3 separate regions of the Homo sapiens genome follow, and all the other regions are linked to region 1. The links are contacts of gene promoters, found by promoter capture Hi-C in blood cells and fetal thymus (Javierre and others, 2016). All regions are on one chromosome and are shown on one strand. Each heading gives the region's core, a stretch centred on a gene start or on the middle of the fragment in contact. The rest is flanking DNA. Distances are from core to core; before and after follow the strand shown. Region 1 holds the start of ALLC (allantoicase). Region 2 overlaps TRAPPC12 (trafficking protein particle complex subunit 12). Region 3 overlaps TRAPPC12 (trafficking protein particle complex subunit 12).

What was found. The method cuts DNA at HindIII sites, captures the fragments that hold promoters and counts their contacts. A CHiCAGO score of 5 or more calls a contact.
Region 2: a contact is called between a fragment that was not itself captured here and the fragment with the promoter of ALLC in region 1, in 2 of 17 cell types (fetal thymus and naive CD4 T cells). The highest score is 6.5, in fetal thymus.
Region 3: a contact is called between a fragment that was not itself captured here and the fragment with the promoter of ALLC in region 1, in 3 of 17 cell types (non-activated CD4 T cells, total CD4 T cells and activated CD4 T cells). The highest score is 6.2, in non-activated CD4 T cells.

Annotation. Positions count from the first base shown.
Region 1 is chr2:3,656,687-3,660,196 of GRCh38, forward strand. ALLC (allantoicase) reads left to right here and starts at 1,514. Exons shown (of 12, transcript NM_018436.4): 1 at 1,514-1,608. RefSeq lists a silencer at 3,383-3,510. The HindIII fragment of the contact is 6,896 bases long and covers 1-3,510 here.
Region 2 is chr2:3,381,781-3,385,290 of GRCh38, forward strand. All of the region lies in intron 1 of TRAPPC12 (trafficking protein particle complex subunit 12), which reads left to right. Among named protein-coding and RNA genes, the nearest start is that of TRAPPC12, 3.8 kb to the left of the region's middle. The HindIII fragment of the contact is 3,902 bases long and covers 1-3,510 here.
Region 3 is chr2:3,397,660-3,401,169 of GRCh38, forward strand. All of the region lies in intron 2 of TRAPPC12 (trafficking protein particle complex subunit 12), which reads left to right. Among named protein-coding and RNA genes, the nearest start is that of TRAPPC12, 20 kb to the left of the region's middle. RefSeq lists enhancers at 1,387-2,312, 2,313-3,238, 3,239-3,510. The HindIII fragment of the contact is 5,455 bases long and covers 1-3,510 here.

The sequences.
Region 1 (3,510 bases), core at 264-2,763:
CCGTATCTCAAATCTGCAGCGTCAGAATCTGCACTTTAACCAGCTCGTAGGTGATTTGGAAGCACATTAGATTGTAGGAGCCAGCTCGGTGTGGAGGGCAGAGGTCAGGGTGTGGAGGGCAGGGGTCAGGGTGTGGAGGGCAGAGGTCAGGGTGTGGAGGGCAGGGGTCAGGGTGCCTTCTTCCATGGCTTTATCGGTGCCACAGCCTAGGCTTAGCGAAACCACGAGGATAAAAATAGGCCCTTCTGTTCTCCGCACCGTGAGCTTTGTGACTGATCCGAGGCGGCGAGCGGGGGCACTGCACTGCTGTGGCGGGGAAGTCACGGCTGACAAGAACTGCCAGGGACGAAGCCACGTGCATTAATTCATTAAAATACAGTCAGCTATGGAAGGCAGCATAGGATGTGGTTTCGTTCTTAAAGAATTTCATCTGGATGGGCAGACAGATGTGTAAACATGGACTCAAAGGCCGGGCGAGCTGAGATCAGACAACAGGCGCTGGACGCATCCTAACTACGGCTGGGTGGCGGGGCTGAGAGACGGGCTGGGGTTGGGGGTGGGGTTCTCAGTTGGAGGTGGCCTTGAGCCGGCCTTTCAAATGGCTTTGCTTTCCTCTGGGAAAGCTGGAGTTCAGGAGGAGAAGGCCGGTCAGGCCCTGGGGAAAGAAAACCCAGGAAGGAAAAAGGAGCGTGTGGGTGATGGATCTCCCTGGGACGCAGGTTGTCTTTCTGGAGCCCCAAGGGCCCCTGTGCGCGCCATCTGCTGTGCTGGGTTCTGGTTCCAGCTCAGTCCCTCCCTGCGCAGGTGACCTCGGGTGGCTTTCCTGCCTTCAAGGCCCCAGCTGATTCATCTGCAGAGTGGATAGCTTGCCCCGCAGGGTGGCTGTGGTGAAGCAAGGCAACGTCTGTTACTGCATGTCGAAGCCGGGCTCAGCTGTTTCTTTCTGCATGGAAAGTTCTTCTGCAGACAGTGGGGCCTTTGAAGGCAGGCGGCACGTGTTGTTTTGTATGCCACAGGCCTAGCATCCACTTGGCAAGGTGCCCTTTCTTAAGCATCTGTGGGCTTCTTTAAATTCCATGAAAATTTTGTGTGTATTTACTTTTTCTGGGGCTGAGGGGCTCTAGCCAAACCCTCCCAAGGGCCCCTGTCTTCTCTAGTAGGTCAGGACCCACTGCTGGGTGTGCTCAGTGTTTTCTGAGTTAATGATGATTAGTGAATAGGTGACGTCTAGAGATAAAACTTTAAGTCAGGTTACTGGCCGGACCAGGAAGGTGGGGGTTTCAGGCCCAGGCCAGTGGCCGGAGGCAGCTTTGTTAGGGACAGGGAAGGGCCCTGGGACCAGCAGGGACCATGTCTGGCTTCGGGCCTTGTGCGAGGGTCTTGCAGAGGCCTGCTTGGCTTCTCCGGGGAGGGGCTGCTCCCCCTGTTACTTCCACCTCTCTGCAACCCTTGTGACATCATACAGGCACAGCCAATCTCTGCAAAGTTCTGTCTCTACCTCAGGCCCCTATACATTCTCTCTGAGCTGGCACTCAAGCACCGTGGGACCTTGGCTGGCTTCTGGGGAGCAAGAGATCCATTTATGAATACTTGATTTCTGACTGCTGGGTGAGCTGGAGTGTGGTTTATAAATACCTTGCTATCTTTAAGGTGGGCTTTGCCAAAAGAATAGGGTGACAGAGATGAATTTCAGTCATGCAACGAACCCTCGACACTTGGAAGGTGACAGAGGGTAGATGGTGACAGACACCACTTTGTGCCGTTGAACTGTGTTGGTACCGGGCGTGGCCCAAACACCTGGAGGGGCCCCACAGGTGGGTCAGGCTTCTGGGCTCTGGTCACTGCTCTGTTTGGTTTCAAATCATGTGACTTTGGCCTTCTTAAAAAAAAATCTAAAGAGGCTGGGCATGGTGGCTCATGCCTGTAATCCCTGTACTTTGGGAGGCCGAGGTGGGTGGATTGCTTGAGTTGAGGAGTTTGAGACCAGCCTGAACAACATGGCAAGACCCCATTTCTACCAAAAATCAAAAAAATAGCCAGGCATGGTGGTGCGTGCCTGTGGTCCCAGCTACTTGGGAGGCTGACATGGGAGAATTGCTTGAGCCCGGGATGGGATTGGGGTGGAGGTTGCAATGAGCCAAGATCATGCCACTGTACTCCAGCCTGGATGACAGAGTGAGACCCTGTCTCAAAAAAAAAAAAAAAAAAACCTAAACAACTAAGGCCATGGTGAAGTAAACCTATATTCAAAACAAGAGTCACAAAGTAGAACTAAATGTAAATATATACCAAGAGTTGCCGGTAGTCAGGAGTCTCGTGCAGTTGACCTTGGGCTGCTCAGAGTCCCTGCTCAAGGTCACTCTAATTTTGTCCCAAATTTGAACAAACCACTTTTATTATTTCACCATAAATCTCATACTTTTGGCCAAAGGCTTCTTCGGAACTTATTGACAGCGATGACAAAGCCCCTGAAGGTTTTCTTCTTTACGAGGGAGTAACTCTTCCATCAGCACAGCCTTCCCTGCTTGTCAGAGGGAGGTCTCTCTTTCTTGTGCTTCCTAGACTTGCCTGGTCATGCCTTTTCTTATTTTAAGGCTAATCTCAAAAGAAAAAATAGTGTGAGCACCACTTGACTGCCTGAAATTTCATGACTCTATTTTAGAGAGTCATTGCCTCATCGCCTTGCCGTAACCCATGACAATGCTCCTCATTTGCGGTGATTAAGTTGAAATTTGCAGGTAAAACTTTAGCATGTTCCTCAAACATCAGAGCTGACCCTGGGTCTGGTCTCAGCCACAGCAGAAAATGTATTTAAGAGCTCCCTTGAGCAGGCAGTGGGAGGGGTTGCAGCAATGAGCTTAGAAGCAGCTGCCACAGGCTGTCTGAGCACTGTGAGCTGCTGAGCTGGTGGCCTCAGCCGAGGTCGCGTGGCTCCTTCCTTTCTTGCCTAGACCTTGGCTATTTTATCAACAGAAACGGCAGGGACCAGTGAGCAGAGAGCTCAGCAAGCTCATGGCGCAAGAGTCGTGGAGCTGTGACCTCCACCAGGGCTGAGAACGGCCCCTTATACCGCCAGCTCTTGGCTGCCTGGAATCTCTCGGGAACCTCCACGGGGCCCTGCACAGCACAGGCCACTGTGGATACTTCTGGGATTTGTGGCTGAGGAGAGAAACTTAGGAAAGACAAATGTCACGGCCCTTTCACAGCAGACACTGGTTGGGCCTGTGCTGTGGCCTGGAGGCCCAGCTTTAAACGGTCTCTCCTTTCTCACATTTTTTTATCTTAGGGGTGGGGAGACTTTTCACATAACAGCCTTTGAGGTTGTGGGGTGCTATGGTTTGGATGTTTGTCCCCCCAAACCTCATGGTGCAATCAGATCCCCCGTGTTGGAGGTGGGGCCCAGCGGGAGGAGTCTGGGTTATGGGGGCGGATCCCTCATGAATGGCTTGGTGCCGTTCTGGAGGTGGTGAGACGGTTCTTCCTCTGTTAGTCTGGTGAGAGCTGCTTGTT
Region 2 (3,510 bases), core at 461-2,960, 270 kb before region 1:
TCAAGCTCTCCTGCCATCACCTTCCACCCCTCCCTCACTAAAGTGGCTGTTACTATATCCTGGCTTTTCTTTGTAGTTTGACCAAATATGTTTGTGTTCCTAACACAGAAAAAGTGTTTGGATTCAACACTTTTGTTTAATTTACATGTTTTTGAATATACAGAGTCATGCTGTTTATTTTTCTACTCATTCTTTGTGCAAAATTGTATTTGTGAGATCCAAACATAATTTATATGTTAGATATGGAAGAGTTCACTGATTTTCACCACTATTTTAATATTTTATGTCCTAGTATACCACAGTCTACTTATTTACTTATTATTGTGTCTACAGGCAGTGTTTATTTCCACTTTTTTTTTTTTTTTTTTTTTTTGAGATGGAGTCTTATTCTGCCGCCAGGCTGGAGTGCAGTGGCACGATCTTGGCTCACTGCAACCTCCGCCTCCTGGGTTCAAGTGATTCTGCTGCCTCAGCCTCCCAAGTAGCTGAGACTACAGGCGCCCGCCACCATGCCTGGCTAATTTTTTGTATTTTAATAGAGACAGCATTTCACTATGTTAGCCGGTATGGTCTTGATCTCCTGACCTCGTGGTCCGCCTGCCTCGGCCTCCCAAAGTGCTAGGATTACAGATGTGAGCCACCACGCCCAGCCTACTTTTTCTTTTAGGACTTTAGAAGAAAGGTATTTTGATGTGTTATTTATGAAATTCAGCATCATAGCTTACACTGCTCATGTACAGGAATTCCTCCATGATAGGTATCTAGCAGTGGAATTGCTAGGTCCTAGGTACTACGACCACATATTTATTGTCTCAACCAAGACTCCTTTAAGAGTGAAAGGAGACACTTAATGATTTTACTGAGGCGAAGCACGTGGCTCACGCCTGTAATCTCAGCACTTTGGGAGGCCAAGGCAGGAGGATCACTTGAGCTCAGAAGTTTGAGACCAGCCTGGCCAACATATTGAGTCCCCATCTCTACAAAAAATACAAAAATAGCTGAGTGTGGTGGTGCACACCTGTAGTCCCAGCTACTCCAGAGGCTGAGGCAGGAGGATGGGCTTGAGCCCAGAAGATCGAGGCTGCAGTAAGCCATCATCGTCCCATTGCACTCCCGCCAGGGTGACAGAGCCAGACTATGTCTCATAAAATAATAATACTAATAAAATAATAGAAATAACTTAAACCATGGGTGAAAAATTGAATTGTTCTGGGAAAAATCAAGATGTATAGTTATCAAAGTGATAAGATAATGTGCTTTTTAAACTTTACTAGATAATACCAAGTGGTTTCTCAACATGGATGTTCAAAGGTATACCTCTTTCAGCTCTGTTGCTTATTTTTCTAATGGATCATTTAGTGTGCTTTTATTAATTTGTAGGGATTCTTTATGTATTCTTCGTGTTAATCCTTTCTCAGTTACATTTGTTTGTTTCACTTTTTTTAGGTTTTTAATGATAGAACTTTCCATTTTAATATAGCAGATGTATCCATTTTCCCTTTATGGTTTGTACTGATTATGCCTAGTTTAAGAGGCTTTGCCTACTCTGAAAATATATTCTCTTATATTTTCTTCTGAAAGTTTTGAAGTTTTGCCTTTCACAGTTAATTTTTGATCCCCCACCCCCGCCCCGCCCGAGACGGAGTCTTTCTCTGTCACCCAGGCTGGAATGTCGTGCCTCAATCTTGGCTCACTACAACCTCTGCCTCCTGGGTTCAAGCGATTCTCCTGCCTCAGCCTCCCGAGTAGCAGAGTAGCTGGGATTACAGGTGCCCGCCACCACACCTGGCTAATTTTTGTATTTTTAGTAGAGACGGGGTTTTACCATGTCGGCCAGGCTCATCTTGAACTCCTGACCTCGTGATACGCCCGCCCCGGCCTCCGAAAGTGCTGGGATTACAGGCGTGAGCCACCGCACCCGGCCTTCACAGTTAAGTTTTTAACGTCCCTGAGATTGATACTGTGTCTGTGGTGAGACAAGATTCCAAGTTTATTTTTTCCCAGCTGCATGATTTGTCTACACATCACTCAAGGAAAATCGTCTCTTCCTTTGATGTGTGCTACATATTCCCTTGTGATAGTTCAGTCTTGTTTTTTTTTTTTTTTTTTTTTTTTTTTTTTTTTTTTTTTTTGAGATGAAGTTTCGCTGCTGTTGCCCAGGCTGGAGCACAGTGGTGCGATCTCGGCTCACTGCAACCTCCGCCTCCTGGGTTCAAGTGATTTTCCTGCCTCAGTATCCCAAGTAGCTGGGATTACAGGCGCCCTCCACCACACCTGGCTAATTTTTGTATATTTAGTAGAGACAGTGTTTCACCATGTTGACCAGGCTGGTCTTGAACTTCTGACCTCAGGTGATCCACCCTCCTCGGCCTCCCAAATTGCTAGGATTACAGGCCTGAACCACCGTGCCTGGCCCAATATTTCAGTCTTTATACCATAGATTTTTGATGTATTCTACATAAATAATCATACACGAAGAATGAAGGTTTGTATTTTTTTCTTTTCAGTTTTTATTGTAGCTTTTAGTTATTTTTCTTGCCTTAATCCTGCCCGAGGACTCCAGTATTAGGCAGCATAAAAATGTTGAAGAGGACATCTTTATCTTTTTTCTACTTTTAAAGAGAATGCTTTAAACGTTTCACTGTTAATTTGAGGTTTCCTTTAGGTTTTTGGTAGATACCTTTGATTGCATTAAGGAAGTTACTTTCTGTTGCTAGTTTGCTGACAGGTTTTATCTTGAGCAGATGCTGAATTTTATTAGATACTTTCTTGTGCATCTATTGAGATAGTCATGTACTTTTATTTAATCTATCGCATTAAACCAACAGTACATTTCTGGGATTACCTGAGTTTGGTAGAAAATAAATACATTGCTGATTCAGTTAGCTAATATTTCAAGATTTTTGCATGTGTGTTCATGAGTGAGATGATAGCTTCCCTTTTAGTATGGCCTTGTCAAATTTTGGTCTCAAGGTTATATTAGCCTTATAAAGTGAATTGGGTCATGTGTCTTTTTTCTTCTCTGCAAGAATTTTTGTACTGTAGGAATTATCTGTACGGAATCTTTGGTAGAATTCACTGGTAAACCCTCTGGACCCTATATTTTCTTTGTAGGAAGACTTAACTACTGGTTATACTTTTTTTATGGTTATAGAACTATCTCGTCATATATACATGGTTATTACTAGTGTCTGCTTTGCATTTGAACCTTACATTGGAATAAGATTAGAGTAAGGAAACCCTTGAAGTGAAGAAGCTATTTTGCTACAAATTATATGTCCATTCTCACAAAATCTTATGTATATAATTTATATAGATGTAGCTTTATAATATATGTATGTCTTCCCATTCATAAAAGCATCATCTAAATCACGTTTTATATCATTTTTATTTGAGCATTCCTCTTGATTTTCTAGAGAAGAAACCCTCAGATCCTTACTTACAAGCATTTTCCTGCATCTAGATTTTATTTGTGTGAAAGCAAAAGTGATCATCCTTGCCCTAAATTAT
Region 3 (3,510 bases), core at 632-3,131, 260 kb before region 1:
TGTTATAAATTGTAGCTGGGTTTTTAGAATAAACCACAAAGGATTATGTAGGTGGAACTTATTATATAGAGATAATGTATATTCTTTCTGACACATACACTCTCACACTTTCTCTGTCTCCCATTGTTGTTAATAATTTAGCAAAATAAGAATGTTGGGAAAGCATATTTGAGTACAGTCTCAAGCTCATCAGCCCACCCGCCTTAACCTCCTTGATGTCCCAAACCCTGCTTGGGATTCTCCTCCTGCAATGTGGTCCAAAAAGTGCCATTGGGTTCAAGAGTTCAACTCATGTTTTCCTTCTGTTGGGTCACAGTCCTTTGCTGTGTCTGAAGACAGTTGTTAGATTTCTTCTGAGCAATGTTGCAGTTGTTCACATCAAGACAGTCCAGTCCCAGTTACCCTGAAATGGACAGAAGCAAATTACTGCTGCTTTTTATTCATTCATCAGTTGGTGGACATTTGGGCTGTTTCTACCTTTTGGCTGTTGTGAGTAATGCTACTGTGAACATTCACACACAGGCGTTTGTGTCTATGTGTTCTCAGTGATCTGGGATGTATAGCTAGGTGTGGACTTGCTGGATTCTGTGGTAACTCTGTTCAACATTTTGAGGCCCCGCCAGACAGTTTTCTAAAATGGCTATTCCATGTTGACTCCCCACCAATGATGTGGTGTGTGAGGGTTCCAGTTGCTCCACATCCTTGAGTTTGGGTTTGGGTTTTAATTGTTGTGGTTTTTTTGTTCAGGTGGTCTCATTTTTCCCTGGAGTAAGCAAACACTGGATCAGAGGATAGACCCTGCCAGGATAAACAGGCACCTTTCTGCATTGGCGATGTGGCAGAAAGCTCAGCGTGTTCTGTGCCAGGTGCAGGGGCTGCTGCCTTTCAGCAGCGCTACCCCGTGAGCATTTGTGTCTTTGGGCTTCCCAGACAGTAAGGCCCATACGCTTTCAGTCCACTGCTCTGGCTTCTGTTTTGTCTTTCACCATCAAAATCAAGAAGGGACTACTGAGACTATTCCCCCATTGCAGGAAAGGCAGCCAGGCCCTAACCGCCTGTCAGCCGTGAGAACAGCCACTTGCTCCTCCATAAATGCACCTGACCAGGAGAATGGGGTGGCGACATCACGATGAGTCCCAGATTGTGATATATTCATGTGTTTCCTTCGTGTTCCCTGAACCTTGCCCTGGATAAAGTAGACCCTCACTGAATGGCTTGCTGGTCTGAAGGAATCATTGGTTCTAGCTGGATTCCATCCCAGGTGTAGTAGCACAGCTCTCTAGAAAGCCCTGGGGGAAGTTCCCTCCCCCTCCCACCTCCCCTGCACAGTAACGGCTAGAGGAGATGCAGTACAAGCGTCTCCACCTCCCTGCGCTGTCACCACCTTCAGTTAGCCACACAGCAAGGGCGAGGTTTGTCCTAAGACGCTTGTCACATCCTTGGCCCTCTGTTGGTGGGATATTTGATAGTCATGCATATGCTAGTATCTCAGGAACTTGCTGTGGTAGCTAAAATATTAACTAACAGAGAATTTTAAGGACAAGAGATTTTCACAGCATGGTCTCATTGATAATGTTGTGGGGATGGAGGAGTTGAATTGGCCCTCCGTCCCTGGCATTACAATTTGATTTTGCTCTTTACCCAGCTCGCTGCCCCCCTGGCTGAGATGCTCTTTGTCTGAGACGAGTTGCATTTTTGCAGAGCTTTATGGGGCCCTGTGTCTGAACTCTTTTATTTTGCCTTTTAATTATTGCTGCTAGATCAGTTAGCTGATTTTGTGGATCTGGTATTTGAAGTACTTCACCTTATGCTCTGAAAGCAGAAATTATACAACTGCTGCCCCTAGGTCTTTTCCTCAATGTGAGAAAACGTGAGGCTGGCCTCTGCGAGCACCAGGTTTAGCACCCAGGGAAGAGACAGACCTATGACCTGGAGCCACCCAGCCCCTTCTGCCGCAGGCTGTTGATCTCTCCTGGTAGAAGGGAGGCAGCAGAGCAGAGAAGCAATGTCAGCAGCTTTTCTGATTCTCTTGCTCTCATGGTCTAGATTCTGTTCTTCTTTTAAGTGTCACTATTTTGAAAGATAGCAAAAGATTGAAATAACCTTGCTTCTTAGGAGAAACAACTTCTATGCTTTTCTTTCCCCCGCTCCCCCCGCCACCGCCCCGCCGCCAAAAAAAAAAGGGTAGGAGAACAATAGGAAGAGATCTGAGCCAGCGGTGAAGTCCAGGCAGGGGGCACGCAGGCTTCTCTGCACCCTCAGTCACTGCGTGCTCCCAGTGGCCCGCCTGCAGCATGAGCATCAGCTTCTCTGTGGCTGGGAGGCAGCTTTGTGCTGAGATGGAGAGATCTTGGCTTTCTCCACCCCCCATCTTGGGGTTGTCCTAGTTTGAGTCTTTCTTCTGCTCACCCGAGAGACTGCAGGGACTTTGTGCTGTGTCCCTGTCAGCAGCTGCTGCGGGCCAGACGCCCAGAGCACGTGTCAGGGAAGATCCAGCCAGCTCCGGCTGCTTGCTGTCTCCAGGCATTTCAGGGACCTCAGAGCCACTGCTTCCTCCTCCCAGGATGCTCACTGTCTCTGGCATTTCAGGGACCTCAGAGCCACTGCTTCCTCCTCCCAGGATGCTCACTGTCTCTGGCGTTTCAGGGACCTCAGAGCCACTGCTTCCTCCTCCCAGGATACTCACTGTCTCTGGCGTTTCAGGGACCTCAGAGCCACTGCTTCCTCCTCCCAGGATACTCACTGTCTCTGGCGTTTCAGGGACCTCAGCGCTGCTTCCCTTTCCCCCTGGGCTGCTCTATCCCCCCAGCTGCCCCTGCCTCAGGTGTTTCAGGGACCTCAGTGCTGCTGCCCCTTCCCAGGTGCCTTTCCTCAGTCAGCAGCACCCCCAGAAAGGAGAGAGATGGTCCAGGGCTGTGTCCTGGTCCCAGCTGTGTGTGAGAGGCGTCTCCTGCCGCCCGTGGAGAGCATCGTGTCCTGTGAGCAGCCTTTACTTACCCTGGACTCTCCCTCGGCCTGCGGTGCAGCCACCGAAACAGCACTGAGGCCTGTGGACTGTGACAGTTTTCTCTGCACTGTTGGGATGACTAGTTTGTCCCCATACAACAGACTTGGTAACTTCAGGCCCTTCCCTGGGGCCCCTGAACTGTGCCGACTCCCGAGGGTCATGAAGGCTGGCTCGCCCAGCATCTGGGCTTGACACTAGCTGTGAGATTGCTCCCTGCTCAGGGCAGGTCATTGGCACATCTCTTCTGTCCCCAGGCCACACAAAAGCACCTGTTCTCCCTCCCCTTGCCCTTCTGTGTCTTCCCTTTAAAGCAAGTGGCATGCTTCAGATTCCACGTCCAGTGTTCTTCAGCACCGTCTAAAGATCGTTCTAATCAGAGGAGTCAGGTCAGGAGTAGAAACGGTCCCGTGCAGAGGCAACTGGATTCTTCCCTGGCTTGCAGCATGAAGTGCGCCCAGCAGCTCCTGGAGCAAGGCCTGGCTCAGCGAGGCTACCGAGGACCT